6 separate regions of the Homo sapiens genome follow, and all the other regions are linked to region 1. The links are contacts of gene promoters, found by promoter capture Hi-C in human tissues and cell types (Jung and others, 2019). All regions are on one chromosome and are shown on one strand. The core of a region is centred on a gene start or on the middle of the fragment in contact, and the rest is flanking DNA. Distances in the headings are between cores, read along the strand shown. Region 1 holds the start of FGF9 (fibroblast growth factor 9). Region 2 has its middle 45 kb from the start of LINC00621. Region 3 overlaps SACS (sacsin molecular chaperone). Region 4 overlaps LINC00621 (long intergenic non-protein coding RNA 621). Region 5 has its middle 2.4 kb from the start of LINC00621. Region 6 overlaps SGCG (sarcoglycan gamma).

Region 1 (3,278 bases), core at 52-2,551:
TGCAATTCCGGAGGCATTTTTTTTTCGGAGCTGGCAAGACAGAGAGAGAGAGAGACAGAGATACAGAGAAAGAGGGGAGGAGGGGAGAACCCTTCCCACGTCCCCCACCCGGCCACCACCTTCTTGGTAGTTATAATTTCAACATGTCATCTCATGGACACTAAAGGGTTAATGGTATACCTACCAAATCGGCTGTGGTCTTTCCTGGTTCCCTGGATAGTACCATTGGGGAAGATTTCTAAGTGAAATCCAGTCCTGCAGTATAGCTGCCTCCGCCTGAGAATCCCCTTTAAATGATCCAAGTCCGTGACTGCGGGTCCCCTGGGGAGCCCCCCTGCTTCGGACTGACCCAGGTGGTCACTTAACAAAACCGGGCTGTCCACCGGCAACACGGGCACATTCCCAAACGGTACCGCATCCTGCACACCGAAATAGTTCCCAACTTCACCTAAGGGAGCCATCAGAGGACTCGGCTTTTGGAGCACAAGAATAAACAATAATGATGGTGTCAACCCAGGAGATATTAGGCGAGGTATATCCAACTCCCCTCCCTTACTGCAGTTGCAGAGAGAGAGAGAAAAAAAAGGTTCTTTTCTTCAATCCATTAAATGCATAAATAAAAGTAATCTGCTGTTTCACTGGCACAGGTTCAAGGTCAAACCACTGATAGTCTAAGAAACCACCACTTTATACTCACACACTGACATATTGATAAACATATCTATGTATCTCTATAGATAGATCCCCAGCTCTTAGCAGGCAGGAAGGTCTTCATCCCATCCGACCGTAATAAGGAAAAAAAATCCGTAGTTTCTCCATTTGGTTTGAGATCAGAATGACCATAGCAACTTAAATGCCTAGGCGTTATTATAGGGATTTTTAAGATGCACGGGCTACGTCAGAATTTACGGATCCTGACTCCAGGAAGGCATGCGCTGTTTTTACTCTCTAACCGACTCTGCAGACATCAGCATGAATCCTTCAAGGGGAAAAAAAAATCTCACGTTGGTGGCGGCGACAAATCTCCCCTCCCGGTCCCCCCTCCAAAAAATGATAATAATAATAAAACAAAAAGAAGAAGAAACTTTAGGCGTCCAAAGCTAGTATCCAGGATTCTCCAGAGGCTCGGCAGATGTCCATTGGCTTAGAACGGGTGGCGAGCGGCGAGCGAGGAGAGCCGCGTCCGGGAGCTCGCGTGCCGCCCAGGCTGCCGCGAACAGGTGTTGCCGCGCCGGCTCGCGGAGCGTTGTAGCCGGGCGGAGCGCTCCTCCTGCGCAGCCCCCGCCGGCGCGCAGAGTGGCGCAGGCAGCGGCATTGGGCTGGGTTTAAGGTAGCGCCGCCGCAGCCCGGGCTCCCCGCGGTCCTAGCGCCCGGCTTACTGCCCGCGCCGCTCTGCGGCAGGCGAGGTGCGGCGCGCCAGAGCGCAGGACTTCCTGGGAGGCAGTCGAGGAGCCCTGGCTTTACAAAGAAAAGCAAATGAAAGATGCACTGCGAGAGGCGGGAGGAAGAAACCCTGAGTCTCCCGAGACTCAAAGTTCTCCTGCAGAATAGAAGCCGGTAACCTACAATCTAGCTGGCTGGCTACATTGATGGAGGGTCAGAGTGAAACTGGGAAACTAGTTTTCACTGGGGCTCTGTAACCTTGCGTTGTATTATAGAATATGACTGAGTTGAGAGAGTCGGAGGGAAGGGGAGTTGATTTAATGGACTCGGATGGCCATGGCAGTTTCTCTTCCATTCTTCGGCCACACACACAGAAGCGCAAACTATGTTTCAGGTAAGATCAACTCCTCTCCCCCGTCACACACACACACACACACACACACGCAGATGCGGCCACCGTTTCTGTTTTGTTTGGAGCGTTCTGCTGGGCATCTTTGGGTTGGGGCTATGTTTAGGTCCCGCCCCGCTGCTCGGGTCCCGGCGGCCGCAAAGCAGTCGGCAGGGGGGCGCCAGAGAACCTTCTCTGTCCCCGACTTCGACTCGGGCGCGCGTCTTCGGGAGTCTGGGTGGAGGGGAGCGCTCCAGTAGGCGTCTTCTCGCCCTCAAACCACGCTGCTTAGGACGAGCGGCGCCATCCCAAGCCGTGCATCGGCTCGGGGAAGCGAAAGGCGAGTTCTGGTGTCTCACTCCACCGTCCGAAGCCCGCCGCGGAGCTGGGAGGGCCGGGCACTGGATGCTTGCGGGGCGCCCCGGGGCTGCAGCCGCTCCTTCCTGCTCTGCCCTGCGGGGCCGCACGTGGAAGCCTGAGCTCCGTTGCGCGGGCTCGGGTTTCTGTTAGCCGCCGGCGGCCTTCGCGCCCAGCGGGAGTCAGGGACAAAGAAACCCGCCTCCGGGGGCCGCCAGGGGCCCTGCCGGGCCGGGCCCGCCAGAGAGACTGGAGGCGGCGCGCTCTGCGCCCGGGACAGCCTGCCTGCGCCCGGATCCCCAGTGGCGGCGGGCGCGGAGCGCGGCGCCCCCCAACACACACACACACACACACACACACACACACACACACACACTCGCCCACAGCCCTCCCGCGGGGCCCCCCTTCCCTCCCCCTGCTCCTCTTTGTTCACATTGTCTTAGAAACGGCCCGACTCTCGGGTCAAGATGGTGAAAGTTGCCGAGACTTGAGCGCAGCTCCACACTGCGGGGCGTGCAACTGAGAAGCAAAGTCGAAAGCAGAGACTGAACCCCTGCGGTGGGGAAGCGAATCAAAACCTGGTTATGGGGGAGAAGTCGGATCCGCCTTAGTAGTCAGCTAAAGGCTGGAGATGCATAACTGGGGCTGGCCCTACTCCGGACGGGAGGGCTTCGCCTGAAGACGAAAGGGAGCGATGAATTTGCAGATTTCGGGGGCGCTGGAGGTGCCAGCGACCTGGAGCGACCTTCCCCTGCCCTCCGGGGAGGAAGGCGTGCTCCGGCCCGGGCGAGGAGGAAGGAGAGAAGAGCGAGTGGTCCTCCCCTCTTCCTTTCCCACCCCCCCTTTGCCGCAGTCCAGGGTCATTGGGTGTCCGGGGCTGGCTCGGTGCGTCTTGCTTACGTGTTTCTGAAGCATGAGAGCCCTGCCCCGTGGTATTTACAGCAGTCACATCCGCGGTGGTACAGAGCGGGCTTTAACGTTAACTGCTCGGCGGCAGATACAAGAAGCTGGGTATTAAGTGTCACTTCTCATAAACCACCCGAGTCGCTCGCATTAATCTCCGAGGCAGCCAGCAGTGATGGGTACAGCAGGGGCGTTCCTCGACCAGTTGGGTACAGTGCGCCGGGATGGTTACTTAGTGGGGAAAAAA
Region 2 (3,406 bases), core at 484-2,983, 1.2 Mb before region 1:
TCCTGACAACTGGCATCTTGACACATGTTCTGTGCTCCAGGTCCCAGTAACTGTGCCCATCCATTGTTACCACAGGTCACAGTGGCCCTGGCCCTGGGGCATTATACTCTCTCTTGGTGTATTAGTCCATTCTTAGGCTGCTAATAAAGATATATCTGAGACTGGGTAATGTATAAAGAAAAAGAGGTTTAATGGACTCACTGTTACATATGGCTGGGGAGACCTCACAATCATGGAGGAAGGTGAAGGAGGATCAAAGGCACATCTTACATGGTGGCAAGACAGAGAGCATGTGCAGGGGAATTGCCCTTTATAAAACCATCAGATCTCATGAGACTTATTCACTATCATGAGAACAGCATGGGAAAAACCCGCCCGCATGATTCAATTACTTCCCACTGAATCCCTCCCATGACACATGGGGATTATGGGAGCTGCAATTCAAGATGAGATTTTGGGGGAAGGGCATAGCCAAACCATATCATTCTTCCCTGGGCCCCTCCCAAATGTCATGTCCTCACATTTCAAAATACAATCATGCCTTCCCAACAGTCCTCCAATGTCTTAACTCATTTCAACATTAACCCAAAAGTCCAAGTCCAAAGTCTCATCTGAGACAAGGCAAGTCCCTTTCGCCTATGAGTCTGTAAAATCAAAAGCAAGTTAGTTATTTTCTATATACAATGGGGGTACAGGCATTGAATAAATATTCCCATTCCAAATAAGAGAAATTGGCCAAAACAAAGGGGCTCCAGGCCCCATGCAAGTCTAAAATCCAGCAGGGCAGTCAAATCTTAAAGCTCCAAAATGATCTCTTTTGACTCCATGTCTCACATCCAGGTCACATTGATGCAAGAGGTGGGTTCCCATGGTCTTGGGTAGCTCCATCCTTGTGACTTTGCAGGGCACAGCTCCCCTCCCAGCTGCTTTCGCGGGCTGGCATTGAGTGGCTGTGGCTTTTCCAGGTTCATGGTGCAAACTGTCAGTGGATCGACCATTCTGGGGTCTGGAGGACAGTGGCCCTCTTCTCACAGCTCCACTAGGCAGTGCCCAATGGAGACTCTGTATAGGGGCTTCCACCCCACATTTCCCTTCCACACTGCCCTAGCAGAGGTTCTCCATGAAGGCTCTGCCCCTGCAGCACACCTCTGTCTGGACATCCAGGCATTTCCATACATCCTCTGAAATCTAGGCAGAGGTTTCCAAACTTCAATTCTTGACTGCTATGCACCTACAGGCTCAACACACCATGTGGAAGCTGCCAAAGCTTAGGGCTTGCACCCTCTGAATCCACGGCCTGGGCTGTACCTTGGCCCTTTTAGCCATGGCTGGAGCAGCTGGGATGCAGGGCACCAAGTCTAAAGGCTGCACACAGCAGGCGGGCCCTGGACCCAGCCCAGGAAACCATTTTCCCTCCCAGGCCTCTGGGCCTGTGATGGTAGGGGCTGTTGCAAAGGTCTCTGACTTGCCCTGGAAATATTTTCCCCATTGTCTTGGTGATTAGCATTTGGCTCCTTGTTACTTATGCAAATTTCTGCAGCTGGCTTGAATTTATCCTCAGAAAATGGGTTTTGCTTTTGTGCTGCATTGTCAGGCTGCAAATTTTTCAAACTTTTAAGCTCTGCTTCATCTTGAACACTTTGCCACTTTGAAATTTCTTCTACCAGATACTTTAAATCATCTCTCTCAAGTTCAAAGTTCCACAGATCTCTAGGGCAGGGGCAAAATGTCACCAGTCTCTTTGCATAGCAAGAGTGACCTTTACTCCAGTTCCCAACAAGTTCCTCATCTCCATCTGAGACCACCTCAGCCTGGACTTTATTGTGCATATCACTATCAACATTTTGGTCAAAGCCATTCAACAGTCTCTAGGAAGTTCCAAACTTTCCCACATTTTCCTTTCTTCTTCTGAGCCCTCCAAACTATTCCACCCTCTGCCTGTTACCTAGTTCCAAATTCACTTCCACATTTTGGGTATCTTTACAGCGGCACCACACTCTACTGGTACCAGTTTACTATATTAGTTCATTCTCACACTGCATTAAGACATACCTCGAGACTGGGTAATTTATAAAGAAAAAGAGGTTTAATGGAATCACAGTTCCACATGGCGGGGGAAGCCTCATAATCATGGAGGAAGGTGAAGGAGGAACAAAGGTATGTCTTACACGGCGGCAGGCAAGAGACCATGTGTAGGGGAACTGCCCTTTATAAAACCATCCAATCTAGTGAGACATTCACTATCATGAGAACGACATGGGAAAAACCTGCCCCCATGATTCAGATACCTCCCACTGGGTCCCTCCCATGACACACAGGGATTATGAGAGCTACAATGCAAGATAAGATTTGGGTGAGGACACAGCCGAACCATATCACTTGGGAATTCCCTGCATCCTACCCAGACCTTTGTAAGCTGGTCTCAGCCTGCCCAATTTGAATGTGCTGGTTCTTCCAGATCCCTGATGCATACCATTGTCTTGGCCAGGCCCATCACATAATGATTTTGAATCTTTTGACAGTATTCACCATATAATATGGCTACTTGAAGTAAATGTTTTCTAACCTGTCATTTAAAGTGATTTATGTATCATCTATATATCTACATTGTAAGTTAAAAAAAATCAACTGGATTAATAGGAAAGTAAATGTCAAAATAAGTGCAAAGGCAGGTTAGGTCCAAGGTTTTTTAAGTCCAGCAGTTCAGTAAGGCTAAGGCCCTCTTTCTTCTCTGCCAAACTCAATGTGTGGGCTTGATCTTCTAGATCACTCTCTAAAGGTGGCATGGTCCTTGCAGTTGATTTAGATATATTTTCATATCCTCCAGGCTAGGAAGCATTGATAGGCAAAAAATAAAATAATGTACCTTCTTAAGAATGAAGATACTGGGGGCCAGGTACAGTGGCTCACGTCTGTAATCCCAGCACTTTGGGAGGCCAAGGCAGGCGGATCATGAGGTCAGGAGATCAAGACCATCCTGGCTAACATGGTAAACCCCATCTCTACTAAAAACACACACAAAAAAATTAGCCGGGTGTGGTGGCAGTCACCTGTAGTCCCAGCTACTTGGGAGGCTGAGGCAGGAGAATGGTGTGAACCCGGGAGGCGGAGCTTGCAGTGAGTGGAGATTGTGCCACTGCACTCCAGCCTGGGCGATAGAGCAAGACTCTGTCTCAAAAAAAAAAAAAAAAAAAAAAAAAAAAAGAATGAAGATACATTTTCAGAAGATTCTTAGTAGAGTAACATTCAAATCTGTTTAGCAAGAACCACTTAATTGCTTGTCTACATCAATTAGCTGCAAAGGGAGTGGGGCCCTTATGAACACATAAAAGGAATCCAAACCTGCCTTTTAGAATCTGTGAAGCAAGCATGAGTTAAATAAAGGAGGGTGGATACCTAAAAAAAA
Region 3 (3,712 bases), core at 1,189-3,688, 1.7 Mb before region 1:
GGCAGGCGCCTGTAGTCCCAGCTACTCGGGAGGCTGAGGCAGGAGAATGGTGTGAACCCAGGAGGCGGAGCTTGCAGTGAGCCGAGATCGTGCCACTGCACTCCAGCCTTGGTGACAGTGCGAGACTCCGTCTCAAAAAAAATAAAAAAAAATAAAAAAAAGAATACCAAGAATACTGAGGTAGGGCCAAAAGGGGCTCTTTATTAATAACAAAAGACACTCCTATCACTCAGAAAATTCAAGAGTTTTAAGTGCTGTGTGCCAGGAGTCAGGGACAAAGAAGAAATATAGGTTTTTGATGAGATCACAATGGGAGTACTAAAAATTCAGGTGGTAGAGCAGAGTCCAGTGTTCAGGAGAGTAGGCAGAACAGTGGGGTCCACGTAGCTGAAGACAAGCACAGCCAGGGACGAGCAGGTGGGCAGTAGAGGGCCAAGGAAATGAGCAGCGAACACGGGTGATGAGGGACAGGGGAGGACGTGGGCTTGGGGCCATGACCTAGTGCCAGTAACCCAGAAACAGAGCCAGGGCCCAAAGAAGGAACAAGTGGATTAGCCATATTCCACCTGTCCTAGGTTTCAGGAGTTCATGAGGATAAATAAAGTCAGTGAATATTTACACACATATCTCCATGGCTCCAAACTCCAAACTTGCTTGACAAGACCTTAACCTCCATGCTTCTCTCATCTGCTTAAATTCTTCCCCAGCTATTTCTGGGTGTCCTTGGAGAGGTGACGTCTCACATGGGCTTAGGAACAAGTTTGTTCATGTTCTTTCCATTTGAGCCTGTTGGTCCAGGGGCCCTGCCGTGGCTTTGCAGCTGGTGCCCTCTGAAAGACGTTACTGCCCTGCACCCAACTACCCTGTGAGCCCAAGGTGACTGCAACTTGTGGGTGGGGTGGTGAGGGTTGGTGAATGGCCTCTCCCGATGTCTGTGCTTATTGTGTTTTCTGGGAGGGAGGTGACTATGCATGAACTCAGTCCTGCCCAGTATTTCATGAACACTGTGGCTTCATCTTATGTTTTCAGAGGCTCAAAACCCGTCCTTCACATGTGGCCAGGAGAGGGGAGAGAAGGGCCTGTCTTGTCCCTTCTATGGCTTCTCCCTCCTCTTTTTCTTAGATACCTCTGCATCCGAATGAAACAAAACTCTCAACAAATATCCTTCCGCCTCCTTTAGGAGAAAACAAATTGTGTAATGGAAAGAGCATAAACTTTTAAGCCAGACATCCTTGGTTTGACTCAGCTTTGCCATTTGCTAGTCGTGTGGCCTTGAATCAGTTACTTTTTTCATATCATGAGGAAATAATGTTAGGGATTTTGCATGTAGAACACTTCACATAGTATCTGACACAGAATGAGTGCTCGAGAAAAGGCAACCATTGTTGTTATGACTCCCTTCTCCAGAAACAACACAAAGCCTAGTCATTGGAGGCATTGTATTTTCTAAGTGTGTGAATGACTCTCACACCCCAAAGTGCCTGTCATTTCACAGGCGTTCTAGGAAAGGTGCTGTCCACCACTGTCTCAGCCTAATAAGCAGTTAGTTGCAAACCTGGCTGTCTAATCCCACTTTGTTGATTTCAGGGATTTTCTTTTTGCCACTGTCATCCCTCCATATGTCCAAGTATGCCATAGTCTGTTTTGGGGAGAGGCATACCAAGTGTCTTTGGCCATTACATAGGAAATGCAAGATGGAAAGAGAGGGCCCGGTTACAGTCCTGATGAGTACCACACAGTATCTTTAGGAAAAGAGTCATCAAAAGGCAACAGGATGCCTCCTGACCGTCTGAGGTCCTCGTCAAGTTGGGGGGACCCGGTAGACTTGGTTTCCCTCAGCTCCCAGCTCCGGGCTCCATTTTACTGCATCCTGGGAGACAGGAAAGTCAGTCTGCATGCGTGATTCTGAGCCCTTCCTTGGAGTATTTGCAGTCTGCATCTGGTCTGCAAAAGGTGACTCATTGTTGGCTCTGTCAGCTTCTGAAGGGTAAGGGATCCATGTTCCATGTGCACATGAAGGAACTCAGGGAGGAAAGGAGGGAACCCACACTGATGGGCACTTTGCAGTACTTTCCTGCCAATCTGGCATGCTGTACCTGTCACAGTCAGTTTGATTCCCTTTCTCCCTCCTGGATGGAATAGGCGATCATACTGTGTGGAGTATTCTACCGGTCAGGCACCCCACAGTCCAATTAGGATCAATCATGGGTTTATGTGCAAAGGGGGAAACGGAACCATGAGAAGCCATCCTGGAACTTGGGGAAAGTAGTAGCTGTGGCATCATGACCCTCTAGACCCGAGGGACTAGGGGAGGAGCAATTACTTGAACCTTGAAGGGCGCAGAGTCCCGATGTAGAGCAAGCTCCCTGAGAAGGACAGTGACCTTGGGCTGAAGGACATAACCAGGCCCTGGTGACGCTGCAGGAGGCATGAATTCCCTGACCGTACTCTCTTCCTTACTCCCAGCTCCTGTGGGGACTCCTTATGGGCCAACTCCACCTGCAACCAAAGTGACCACAGCCCTGTTGCCCAAAGAGGCCAACCTGAGCCGGAGAGCTGGGTGGGCAGAGCCTCAGGGGCAAAGGGAAGACATTTGGAGTCTGTGGAAAGATGCTTGGATGTTCACCTCCTTCACCCAGAATTGACAGTAATCCTTTGCCTGACTTCCGTGCCTCTTGACCTCTTTTTAAGAATTTTATCATGAAAAATTTCAGGCATGTACAGAGGTATAGAAAAATATCACTGGGAGCATTCACAAACTCAGTGTGCAGATTCCACAATGATTGAAATTCCGCCACATGAGTTTATATTGACCTTTTTCCTTGTGTTGGTATTTTAAAGCAATTCCCAGAGACCCTGTGTTGCACTGGTCCCCAGGCACGGCCTGTGGTGGCGTCTGCACTGAGGGGTGCAGGCGTGTGGTAGTGTTTCTCAGACAGCATGGTGGTCACCTGGAGAAGCCCAGAGTGGCCCAGGGCAGGTTTGGGCTGGAGAAGGAGGGACTCCTGTGTGCAGCACCAGAGCGAGCTCAGTGTAAACACCTGAATGAGGGGCATGACAACACATGAACACGCTCGCTACTTAACATCTGCGGGCACTGGAATCAGTGCTCTTTAGACACGACGAGGGATGGCTGCCTTCACTGAAAAACAAACTGATAGCTTCTTCATGAGAATAACATAAAACAAATGTATTACCCAGTATAACACATTAGGATTTTATTTACTTATTTACTTCTTATTTATTTTTCTGAGACAAGGTCTCACTCTGTCACCCAGGCTGGAGTGTGGTGGTATGATCATGGCTTACTGCAGCCTTGACCTCCCAGCTCAGCTTTCTGAGTAGCTGAGACTATAGGTGTGTGCCCCCACACACTAAATATAAAATTAGTCCCCCAGCTAATTTTTATATTTTTTGTAGAGACGAGGTTTTGCCATCTTGCCCAGGCTGGTCTAGGACTCCTGAACTCAAGCAATGTGCCTACCTCAGCTTCCCGAAGTGCTGGGATTACAAGTGTGAGCCATTGTGCCCAGCCAGGATTTTAAATGATCTCATTTGTTAAATCTCTTAGGGGTGGAATCCCATGTAGAAATGGTAACTTGGAGTCAAACAGACTGAAGATTTTTTTTTAATTAATCAGGAAAAATGATCTATGTGTGAACCTTTACTATAAGTTATTCTTACTTCTAGTATGTTGTGATTTAGAACAGTA
Region 4 (3,353 bases), core at 470-2,969, 1.2 Mb before region 1:
GGAAAAAACAGCTTCTTGCATGATTCAGCTTTTAGCTTAATTTTTTTCCTTTAGGCATAGTGAATTGGGGTCCCAGGTTTTTATTTTTCTTTCACAAATTAAAACTGATATTTAGACTATTTCTCGGTCCACTAAATTTCTCTCATCCTAAACTCCTGCTAACCACATGTACTCTCTCTGTTCATTTCCCTATTTATTTATATCAGCACTTCCTTCTTCTTGCCAACTTCGGTGCCACATAAGGGAAAAACAACAGAAATCTAACACCCTGGGATACCTTCAGAGAAAACAGAAAAGACACTGCAGACTTCTTTTTGGGAGAAACTCCTGTGTTTTTTTTTTGTTTGTTTGTTTGGTTGGTTGGGTTTTTTTGTGTTTTTTTTTGTGTTTTTTTCTATCAGGGAGTCCTAAGAACTGTAAACGAACATGTTAGCACTAGAGAACATATCCTAGTCATGTGGCACCAAAGTATGTTACTGGTGGCAAATGCATACACGTCTGCAGCAACCTCAATTCCTGCCTGCTCAGAAGAAAGAATTCAGCTGAGGGGCATAAGGCACAGTGAGAGACTGAGGCAAGTTTTAGAGCAGGAGTGAAAATGTACTAAACAGTATTAGAGCAGGAATGAAAGGAAGTAAAGTACACTTGGAAGAGGGCCAAGTGGGCAACTTGAGAGGTTAAACTGCATGGTTTGAGTTTTGATTTGAGGTTTTACGTGTTGGCATGCATTCAGGGGCTTGTGTCCCTTCTCCCCTGATTCTTCCCTCCGGGTAGGAGGGAAGAATCCACCTGAGCAGTGGCCTGCCAGCACTTGAGAGGCTCCGCAAGCACAAGTGTGTTTATGGGAGTTGTGCACATGCTCAGTTGAGGCATTCTTCCCTTACCAGTCGAGTGTTTCTAGAGGAAGGTCATAGACTAATAGTCTAATAGTCTATGACCTTTAGTCATACTAGTGCACATGCCTGAGCCCACTCACCTGTGAACCCCCAAAATTTGAGACAGGTCTCAATTAATTTAGAAAGTTTATTTTGCCAAGGTTGAAGACATGCCCAGTGACATAGCCTCAAGAAGTCCTGATGACATGTGCCCAAGGTGGTCCGGCCACAGCTTGGTTTTATACATTTTAGGGAGACATGAGACATCAATCACTATGTAAGAAGTACATTAGTTCCGTCCGGAAAGGCGGAGACAGCTCAAAGCAAGACCCCCTATTGGGGGCTTCGAAGTAACAGGTAGGTGAGAGACAGATGGTTGCATTCTTTTGAGTTTCTGATAAGTCTTTCCAAAGGAGGCAATCAGAATATGCATCTGTCTCTGTGAGCAAATGGATGACTTGAATAGAATAGAAGGCAGATTTGCCCTGAGCAGTTCCCATCTTGAAGGGACCCAAGATATTTTTCTTTCACATTTTCCCCTTTTCTTTTTTAACATCTTTGGAGAAAGCATTTTTACAACAGAATGAGTCTCCAGTCTCAGGAAAGGTCATCTGACCTTTCCTGGCTAGGACGGTTTATTCCTAGATTGGTAGGTCTGGAAAGTTCATTTTTAGCAGGTTGTGAAGTCTCATGTCCTGTGAAGAGAAAATATGGGGGAGGAAGGGATGAAAAAAACAACAAACAAAAGAACAATCCTGAAAAAATTGATATAGGCCACATTACTCTGCAGTCCATAATAGTAGGCAGGTATGAAAGTGGCTTATGTACGTAAATAGGTTATGTTATATTTTTCTGAAGTTTAAGTTGTCTGGCTTCAGTTCCCAGGGTTTTTAGAAAGCATAGCTTAGTTTTCAGTGACTCCAAATTGGGAAAAATTGAGAAAAAAAAAAGAAGGAAAAAAATTGAAAACATTATTTTGAAGGCTTGTAGCCAAGAAAAATTAGAATTCAGTCCAAACTCTAGAAAAATAATAAAAATTGAAAAAAAATAGGCAAGACTAGACTCTAACAACAGGTGTACAATTGTTTTAGAAGATAATTTGTTTTTCTCTCTTCAGTTTCGCATATTACTAAAGACAAATCATGGTAGGATTGGTTTGTTTATTATACTTGGCCTAACTATTTGTATACAATGCAGCAAGAATGATTATTTTTTACTTAGGCTTTTAAGTAGGCTCTGATGGAACTTTGTTCCATAGCAGGAATCTCAGATAAGACTTTGTAAAACCCGTAAAACCCAGCCGAGCCATGGATTTATGCCATTAAATACCCATGAGTTGGGTGAAATTTCCTCTCCTTTTGAGGGCCCAAGATAAACCTGGGGCGTCTGCACTTGTCAAAAAGTGATATTCTTTACTTACACAGTCAGAAACCCTGTTCAGGGACTGTGTATACAGAATATGAGGCCAGTTTTTCCAAGGGCTTTATTGGCTCCGTAAGTCAAGTTTGATTCCTTATAAGGAAAGCACATGATTCCAGTCAAAGCCTTGGTAAAATAACCAAATTCTCCAAATGTGTCCTGTTACAAATGAAAACAGATTCTTACTGCACTTATGCAAATAACTGTATTGCCATAAGTTAAGAATACTCACAAATAGTTTCCAAATTCTGGATAAATCAGATAGAAACAACTATGCCACAAATTTTGTTCATAGGAGTATACTAAATTGTTAAAATCTGTCAGTAGCTCAAAAGAAAAGTCATAAGACTCGGAAACGCAAAACAAAGGACCAGCAAATATTTTGAGCAAAAAGTAAAAAAGATTGGTTCAGTCCATGCAGTTAATTCCTGTTAATTCCTGCTTGATACTCATGAACATTTAGCTCTCCATGAGTCCTGAAGGTTCTTCCTCTATTCTGTTGTCACAATCTCCAAAGTTATCAGAAACCTGCATTCAAGAGCACCTATTGGAGTTTTATAGCTGATTATAAAACCACCTCCTAAAGAGGACCAAAACAAGACAACAATTGTCCATGGATGAAAAAAAGTTGTTTTTGAGACGGAGGCTCCCTGAGTCGCCCAGGCTGGAGTGCAGTGGTGTGATCTCTGCTCACTGCAAGCTCTGCCTCCCAGGTTCACCCCATTCTCCTGCCTCAGCCTCCTGAGTAGCTGGGACTACAGGCACCCGCCACCATGCCAAGCTAATTTTTTTCTATTTTTAGTAGAGATGAGGTTTTCACCGTGTTAGTCAGGATGGTCTTGATCTCCTGACCTCGTGATCGCCTGTCTCAGCCTCCCAAAGTACAGGGATTACAGGCGTAAGCCACCAGCCCGGCTGAAAAAAAAAGTTTTAAGGCAGCCATAGTCGAAAGGCACAATTGACAAGGAAATTTGTTGCCTCTGTGGCACACAATAATTTTAACATAACAATTATGATGCCGGGTATTTGGTGCCTGGCACAAGACTTTTTTTCTTATAT
Region 5 (3,536 bases), core at 887-3,386, 1.2 Mb before region 1:
TTATGTAATCCCATTTGTTTATTTTTGCTTTTGTTGCCTGTGCTTTGAGGTCTTATTCATAAAATCTTTTCCAAGACCAATATCATAAAGCATTTTCCCTGTGTTTTCTTCTAGTAGTTTTTATAGTTTCAGGTTTTACATTTAAGTCTTTGATCCATTTTGAGTTAACTTCTGCATAGGGCGAGAGATACCTGCAAACTATTCATCCAACAAGGGATTTGTATCTAGAATACACAAGGAATTCAAACATCTCAACAGCAAAAAAAAAAAAAAATTAAAAATGGGCAAATGATTCAAACAGATAGTTCTCAGAAGGACATGCAAATGACTAACAAATATATGGAAAAAGTTCAGTATCACTAATCATCAGATAAATGCAAATCAAAACCACAGTGAGGTATCATCTCACTTCAGTTAGAATGGCCATTGTCAAAAATACAAAAAAAAAACCAAAAAACAAATGCTGGTGAGGAGGTGGAGAAAAGGGAATTCTTACACACTATTGGTGGGAATGTAAACTACTACAGCCACTGTAGAGAATAGTATAGAGTTTCCTCAAAAAAACAAAAATAGAACTAGCATATGATCTAGCAGCCCTACTACTGGGTAAAGAACCAAAGCAAAGAAAATCAGTACATCCAAGAGTTGTCCATACTCCATGTCCATTGCAGCACTATTCACAATAGCCAAGCTATGGAGTCAACCCAAGTCTCCATCAACAGATGAATGGCTAAAGAAAATATGATTTTATACACACACATACACACACCTACACACACACACACACACACACACACACACACAGTGGAATACTATTCAGCAATAAAAAGAATGAATTCTTGTCCTCCATGGAAACATGGATGAGCCTGGAGGAAATGGTGTTAAGTGAAATGAGCCAGGAACAGGAAGTTAAACATGTTCTCACTCATATATAGAAGCTAAAATAGTTGATCTCATAGAAGTAAAGAGTAGAATCCAGGTTATTCAAGGGTGGAAAGGGAAGGGGGATATAGGGAGAGATTTGTTAAAGGACAAAAAATTACAGTTAGGTGGAATAAGTTCTAATGTTTTATAGCACTGTAGGATGACTGTAGTCAAGAATATATATTTTCAAATAGCTAAAAGAGGACATTGAATTCTCCCAACACAAAAAATGATCAATATTTCAGATGGCAGATATGCTAATATCCCTGATCTGATTACTATACATTGTATGTATAGAAACACCAATACGTACCCCACAAATACATACAGTATTATGTATGAATTTTTAAAAATAAATAATTTTTATAGTCAATGAAAATAGTTTATTATTTTATTGTTTTTTGTTTATACATGTTAAGTTTCAACTTTCAATAATAAAATTCAATAAATTTGATTCCTTAATCATAAAAACTTGCTTTACACATTAGTTACATGTTGTCAAAGTCCATACAAAACATCACAAGGATTTGATTGACTCTATGCATGGTACCATCACACAGAAGGAGGAGGGAGCTAATCCAGTAACAAACATTCAAAGATTAAATTGTAGATATGCACAGTGTATTTGGCACTGTTGATTAATATTATAACACCTTCCTCTCAAAGACAGGCATTCTTAAGCGTTAGTCACAATATACCAGAATTTGCTATTCATATTAAAACCACCTTTTAAACTTTATAACAGTAACCAATTATTATAGTTTTAAGAAACAAAACGCAATGAGAACTGGGAATGGAATTCAAATCCTCCAACTTCTTGCTATGCTCCAAGCTGCCATCCATAAAACAGGTTTAATTTGGTAATTTTTCCATTGTGGGAAGTGTCAACAAGAAACAATTTAAAGACAATATTTTCCAATACAAATAAAGACATACACTTTTGTTTAAAATGAACAGTTCTTCTTGGGAGTGCAAAGGGAGCCTTGATGACGTACAGCTTGTGATGATTTTGGCAGCAATTACAGAACAACCAAGGCCATTCAAGTTGTGGAGATTATACTAGCAGGTGAACTCGTAAAGAGAAGATTCTGGAATGCCTATATCTGAAATCAGAATCCTAGTAGTTTGTAGTTTGCCTCTTCCTAGAAGTTCAAGAGACTCAAGTCATAGGCTACAGATGTACTTTCAAGTATATAATTATGAATGGAAGGAGAAAATAAAAGCACAAAAATGCAAATATTAAACCTTTAGTGACTTGGACTATATTCCAGTAGGTAATTTATTCCACTAACTTCACTTTAACAAAGATTAAATCCCTTTATTTTAATCAGGTCCATTAAATTTCATTCATTAAAGTTATACATACTCCAGAATGTTTATAAGACATTTACACCGATCATGTTTACAAAAAGCATAAATTCAGTCTTAAGCTGCACTACAAATGCCTTAATATAACATAATCACAGTATAAGGAAACAAATCAGAAATTCTCTGATTAGATATGCTGTAGCTTCACAGAAAACTCTCAGTAATAAATTAAAACAAAAAGACTTACAATGTATAATGGGCTATGCAGTGCAAAATGATGTCACCGGACCAAAATTTAGTTCAATCATTTTTATTTCAAGTGTGTTTTAAAAATCATAAACGGGGTTTCATAATCCAAAGCTGAAACATTTATTCTTCATAGCTTCAGAATTGACAAGCAATTGTAGACCATGCTTTCCAAATCCACTCTTCTTTGCTATTTTTCAAATTTCTGAGATCTAGTATTAAACTGCTCCATTCTAAATGTACAGTTTTAGATAACTATTGTACACTTGTTGATAAGAGTTTTCTGAAAACAGTCTATCAAATACAAAGAATGGTTTCTATCCAAGAATCAGCAGTGAGGGAAGAAATACTAAACACCTGTCAAGAAATCAGTTATTCATTTTAAAAAATAACAGAACCAGTGCTGCTCTCTGTCATAAAAAAGAACATGTAAAATTTATTTTTATAGGCTTTGGTAACATTATATTCCCCACAGAGGCCTTCAATCCTACTTAAAGATATTTTACACACGGTAACCATCAGGTTTACTGAGTAAAAATCTCAGGTATTAACCATGCCCCTAAAATGTGCTGTTCCAAAGAGGAACAGGTTACTTTTGAGGAAAAAAGCTGCCTTGGTAACTTCCCTCAAATGTTTATTTTAAATAAAAATAGTTGATGGAAGTATTTTTTAAACCAACTTTGGATATAATATGGCATACTGCCCATCAAACAAAAAAGGAAATCAAAACTTTTCTTCCATTTATAATGAGTTTTCCACCTTTACTTTTAAGATTACAACTTACTGACCTTTTATGCTTGTTTGGTTTTTTGACTGCCTAATCCAATATTTAAATTTTTAAAAGTCTGCATTTCAATGTAGTAAGAGTTCTTTTTCAAATAATCTTCATAAGCCAGAATACAGACACCAGAGCAACACTCTCAAGTCACACTGTTTGACTATAATGAAGAGATGAAAATGGGCGGATATCTGAAGATAGGTATTCCCTCTGCTCTGAAGGTGAGCAAGCTTTTAACATGTGAGCAACACAGAACTCCTTTCCTCTGGGGCTCCTTTCA
Region 6 (3,426 bases), core at 404-2,903, 1.6 Mb before region 1:
CTGGGTGTGTCTCATATTTAAGTTTAACAAAATTGATTTTTCTTATTGGAAATAGAAAGAAAGTGAACAACAGTAACCAGAGCTGTATTTATCAGTGGTAAGATTCCACTGTTGTTTATAATTTGGTATCTTTTATTTCACAGATTTGAAATGCTAGTTACTAGTGCTTGCTTTTCAATGTTTGACTTTCTTTGGAATTTGTGTTAGTTCATTATTGCATTGCTACAAAGAAATTCCTGAGGCTGGGTAATTTACAAAGAAAAGGTATTTAACTGGCTCATGGTTCTGCAGGGTGTACAAGCATGATGCCAGCATCTACTTCTGGTGACGGCCTCAGGAAGCTTCCAATCATGGTGTAAGGAAAAGAGGGAGCAGGTATATCTTATGGCAAGAACAGAAGCAAGAGAGAGAGAAGAGAGAAGAGAGAATTTAAATTTATTTATTTACTATTCTTTTATTTCAATAGCTTTAGGTGTACAAATGGTTTTTGGTTATGTGTGTATAGTTGTGATGTCTAGGATTTTAGTGCACTCATCACCCAAGTAGTGTACATAGTACCCAATAGGTAGTTTTTCATCTCTCACCCACTTCTCACCCTCCACTTTCCCCTCTTCTGAGCCTCCAACGCTCATTTTACCACTCTGTATGCCTTCGCATACCCATAGCTTAATTCCCACTTATAAGTGAGAACATGTGGCATTCGATTTTTGATTCCTGAGTGTTACTTCACATAAAATAATGGCCTCCAATTCCATCCAAGTCACTGCAAAAGACATTATATCACTCTTTTTCATGGCTGAATATATTTCCATGGTGTATATATCCACACACCACAATTACATATATCATATATATATATGTGATATAGCACTTTTTTTTTTTTTGAGACAGAGTCTTGCTCTGTTGCCCAGGCTGGAGTGCAGTGGCGTGATCTCGGCTCACTGCAACCTCCACCTCCCAGGTTCAAGCAATTCTCCTGCCTCAGCCTCTTGAGTAGCTGGGATTACAGGCGCCTGCCACCATACCTAATTTTTGTATTTTTGGTAGAGATGGGGTTTCAACATGTTGTCCAGGCTGGTCTCGAACTCCTGACCTCAGGTATATCACATATTCTTTATCCACACATTGTTTGATGGGCATTTAGGTTGATTTTATATCTTTGTGATTTTGAATTGTGCTGTGATAAACATGTGTGTGCAGGTGTCTTTTTGATATAATGACTTCTTTTCCTTTGGGTAGATACCCAGCAGTGGGATTGCTAGGTTAAATCTACTTTTAGTTCTTTGAGAAATCTCCATACTGTTTTCCATAGAGGTTCTACTAATTTTACATTCCCATCAGCAGTGTCTAAGCATTCCTTTTTCACCACATTCGTATCAACATCTATTGTTTTTTGACTTTTTCATAATGGCCATTCCGGCTGGCATAAGGTGGTATCTCATTGTGGTCTTAATTTGCATTTCCCTGATGACTAGTGGTATGGAGTGTATTTTCATATTTGTTGGCTATTTTTGTATCTTCTTTTGAGAAATGTCTATTAATGTCTTTTGCCTACTTATTTTATTTATTTATTTTTTTTGAGACGGAGTCTCACTCTGTCTCCAGGCTGGAGTGCAGTGGCACAATCTTGGCTCACTGCAACCTCCACCTCCCAGGTTCAAGCGAATTCTCCTGCCTCAGCCTCCTGAGTAGCTGGGACTACAGGTGCGTGCAACTGCACCCAGCTAACTTTTGTATTTTTAGTAGAAACAGGGTTTCACCATGTTGGCCAGGATGGTCTTGATGTTTTGACCTCGTGATCCTCCTGCTTCGGATTCCCAAAGTGCTGGGATTACAGGCATGAGCCACTGTGCCCGGCCCCTTTGCCTACTTTTTAATGATATTATTCATTTTTTTTTTCTTGCTGATCTGTTTTATTTCCTCGTAGATTCCAGATATTAACTTTTTTAAAAATCTTTTTTCCCAAGTTAGATATTAGTCCTTTGTCAGATGCATAATTAGTACATATTTTCTCCCATTCTATAGGCTGTCTGTTTACTCTGATGAGTATTTATTTTGCTGTGCAGAAGTTTTTTAGTTTAATTAGGTTCCATTTATTTTTGCTTTTGTTGCATTTACTATTGAGGTTTTAGTCACCTAAATCATTGTCCAGAAGAGTTTTCTATAGATTTTCTTCTAGAATTTTTATGATTTCAAGTCTTAGATTTAAGTCTTAAACCCATCTAGAGCTAATTTTTGTATATGGTGAGAGTAGAAATCCAGTTTCATTCTTCTACACGACCTAGGCAATCCAATTTTCCCAGCACCATTTATTGAATAGGATGTGTTTTCCCCAGTTTATGTTTTTGTATGGTTTGTCAAAGATCAATTAGTTGTAAGTACTTCACTTTATTTCTGGGTTCTCTATTCTGATCCATTGATCTATGTATCTACTTTTATACCACTACCATGCTGTTTGGGTTACTACAGCCTTGTAGTATAATTTGAAGTCCGGTAATGTGATATTTTTAGATTTATTCTTTTTGCTTAGGATGTATTTGGCTATTCAGGCACTTTTTTGGTTCCGTATGAATTTTAGGATTATATTTCCTAATTCTGTAAGAATGATGCTGGTATTTTAATAGAAATTGCATTGAATTTGTAGACTGCTTTGGTCAGTATGGTCATTTTGCAATATTGATTCTTCTAATACATGAATATGAGATGTATTTCAATTTGCTTGCATCATCTATGATTTCTTTCAGCAATGTTTTGTAGTTATCCTTGCAGAGATCTTTCATCTCCTTGGTTAAGTATATTTCTCGGTATTTTTTTTTTGTAACCATTGTAAAATGAATTGACTTCTTGATTGGATTCTCGGCTTGGTTGCTGTTGGTGTATAGCAGTGCTACTAATTTGTGTACATTTATTTTTGTAACCTGAGACTTTACTGAATTCATTCATCAAATCTAGGAGTCTTCTGGAGGAGTGTGTAGGGTTTTCTAGCTATAAGATCGCATCATTGGCAAACAGAGATACTTTGATTTCTTTTCCAATTTGGATGCCCTTTGTTTTTTTATCTTGCAATGATTACTCTGGCTAGCACTTTCAGTACGATGTTGAATACAAGTGGTGAAAATGGGCATCCTCGTCTTGTTCTGTAATAGTTCTTAGGGGGAATGCTTTCAACTTTTTTCCTTCCAGTATAATGTTGGCCATGAGTTTGTCATATATGGCTTCTATTATTTTGAGATATATTTCTTCTATGCCTAGTTGGTTGAGGGTTTTTATCAGAAAAGAATGCTAGATTTTGTTTAATGCTTTTTCTGCATCTACTGAGATGATCATATGGTTTTTGTTTTTAATTCTGTTTAGGTGACGAATCAAATTTCTTGACTCGCATATGTTGAACCATCCCTAGAATGAAACCAACTTGCTCATGGTGAA

What was found. The method cuts DNA at HindIII sites, captures the fragments that hold promoters and counts their contacts. A contact is called where the count stands out against the background at its distance.
Region 2: a contact is called between a fragment that was not itself captured here and the fragment with the promoter of FGF9 in region 1, in 1 of the 25 tissues and cell types used here (lymphoblastoid cells).
Region 3: a contact is called between a fragment that was not itself captured here and the fragment with the promoter of FGF9 in region 1, in 1 of the 25 tissues and cell types used here (dorsolateral prefrontal cortex).
Region 4: a fragment that was not itself captured here is called in contact with the fragment with the promoter of FGF9 in region 1 in 1 of the 25 tissues and cell types used here (lymphoblastoid cells).
Region 5: a fragment that was not itself captured here is called in contact with the fragment with the promoter of FGF9 in region 1 in 1 of the 25 tissues and cell types used here (dorsolateral prefrontal cortex).
Region 6: a contact is called between a fragment that was not itself captured here and the fragment with the promoter of FGF9 in region 1, in 1 of the 25 tissues and cell types used here (lymphoblastoid cells).

Annotation. Positions count from the first base shown.
Region 1 is chr13:21,669,096-21,672,373 of GRCh38, reverse strand. It overlaps FGF9 (fibroblast growth factor 9), which reads right to left and starts at 1,301. Exons shown (of 3, transcript NM_002010.3): 1 at 185-1,301. The coding sequence starts at 461. RefSeq lists silencers at 1,314-1,373, 1,394-1,443, 2,224-2,483. The HindIII fragment of the contact is 7,376 bases long and covers 1-3,278 here.
Region 2 is chr13:22,869,414-22,872,819 of GRCh38, reverse strand. No RefSeq gene overlaps it. Among named protein-coding and RNA genes, the nearest start is that of LINC00621, 45 kb to the left of the region's middle. The HindIII fragment of the contact is 9,156 bases long and covers 1-3,406 here.
Region 3 is chr13:23,390,201-23,393,912 of GRCh38, reverse strand. All of the region lies in intron 2 of SACS (sacsin molecular chaperone), which reads left to right. Among named protein-coding and RNA genes, the nearest start is that of SACS-AS1, 27 kb to the left of the region's middle. The HindIII fragment of the contact is 6,594 bases long and covers 1-3,712 here.
Region 4 is chr13:22,890,828-22,894,180 of GRCh38, reverse strand. The region is part of intron 2 of LINC00621 (long intergenic non-protein coding RNA 621); the gene reads left to right. The region is part of intron 1 of LOC105370109 (a long non-coding RNA gene); the gene reads right to left. Among named protein-coding and RNA genes, the nearest start is that of LINC00621, 24 kb to the left of the region's middle. The HindIII fragment of the contact is 8,684 bases long and covers 1-3,353 here.
Region 5 is chr13:22,917,001-22,920,536 of GRCh38, reverse strand. It overlaps the pseudogene NUS1P2. Among named protein-coding and RNA genes, the nearest start is that of LINC00621, 2.4 kb to the right of the region's middle. The HindIII fragment of the contact is 8,694 bases long and covers 1-3,536 here.
Region 6 is chr13:23,263,730-23,267,155 of GRCh38, reverse strand. The region is part of intron 4 of SGCG (sarcoglycan gamma); the gene reads right to left. Among named protein-coding and RNA genes, the nearest start is that of SGCG, 84 kb to the right of the region's middle. The HindIII fragment of the contact is 3,385 bases long and covers 1-3,345 here.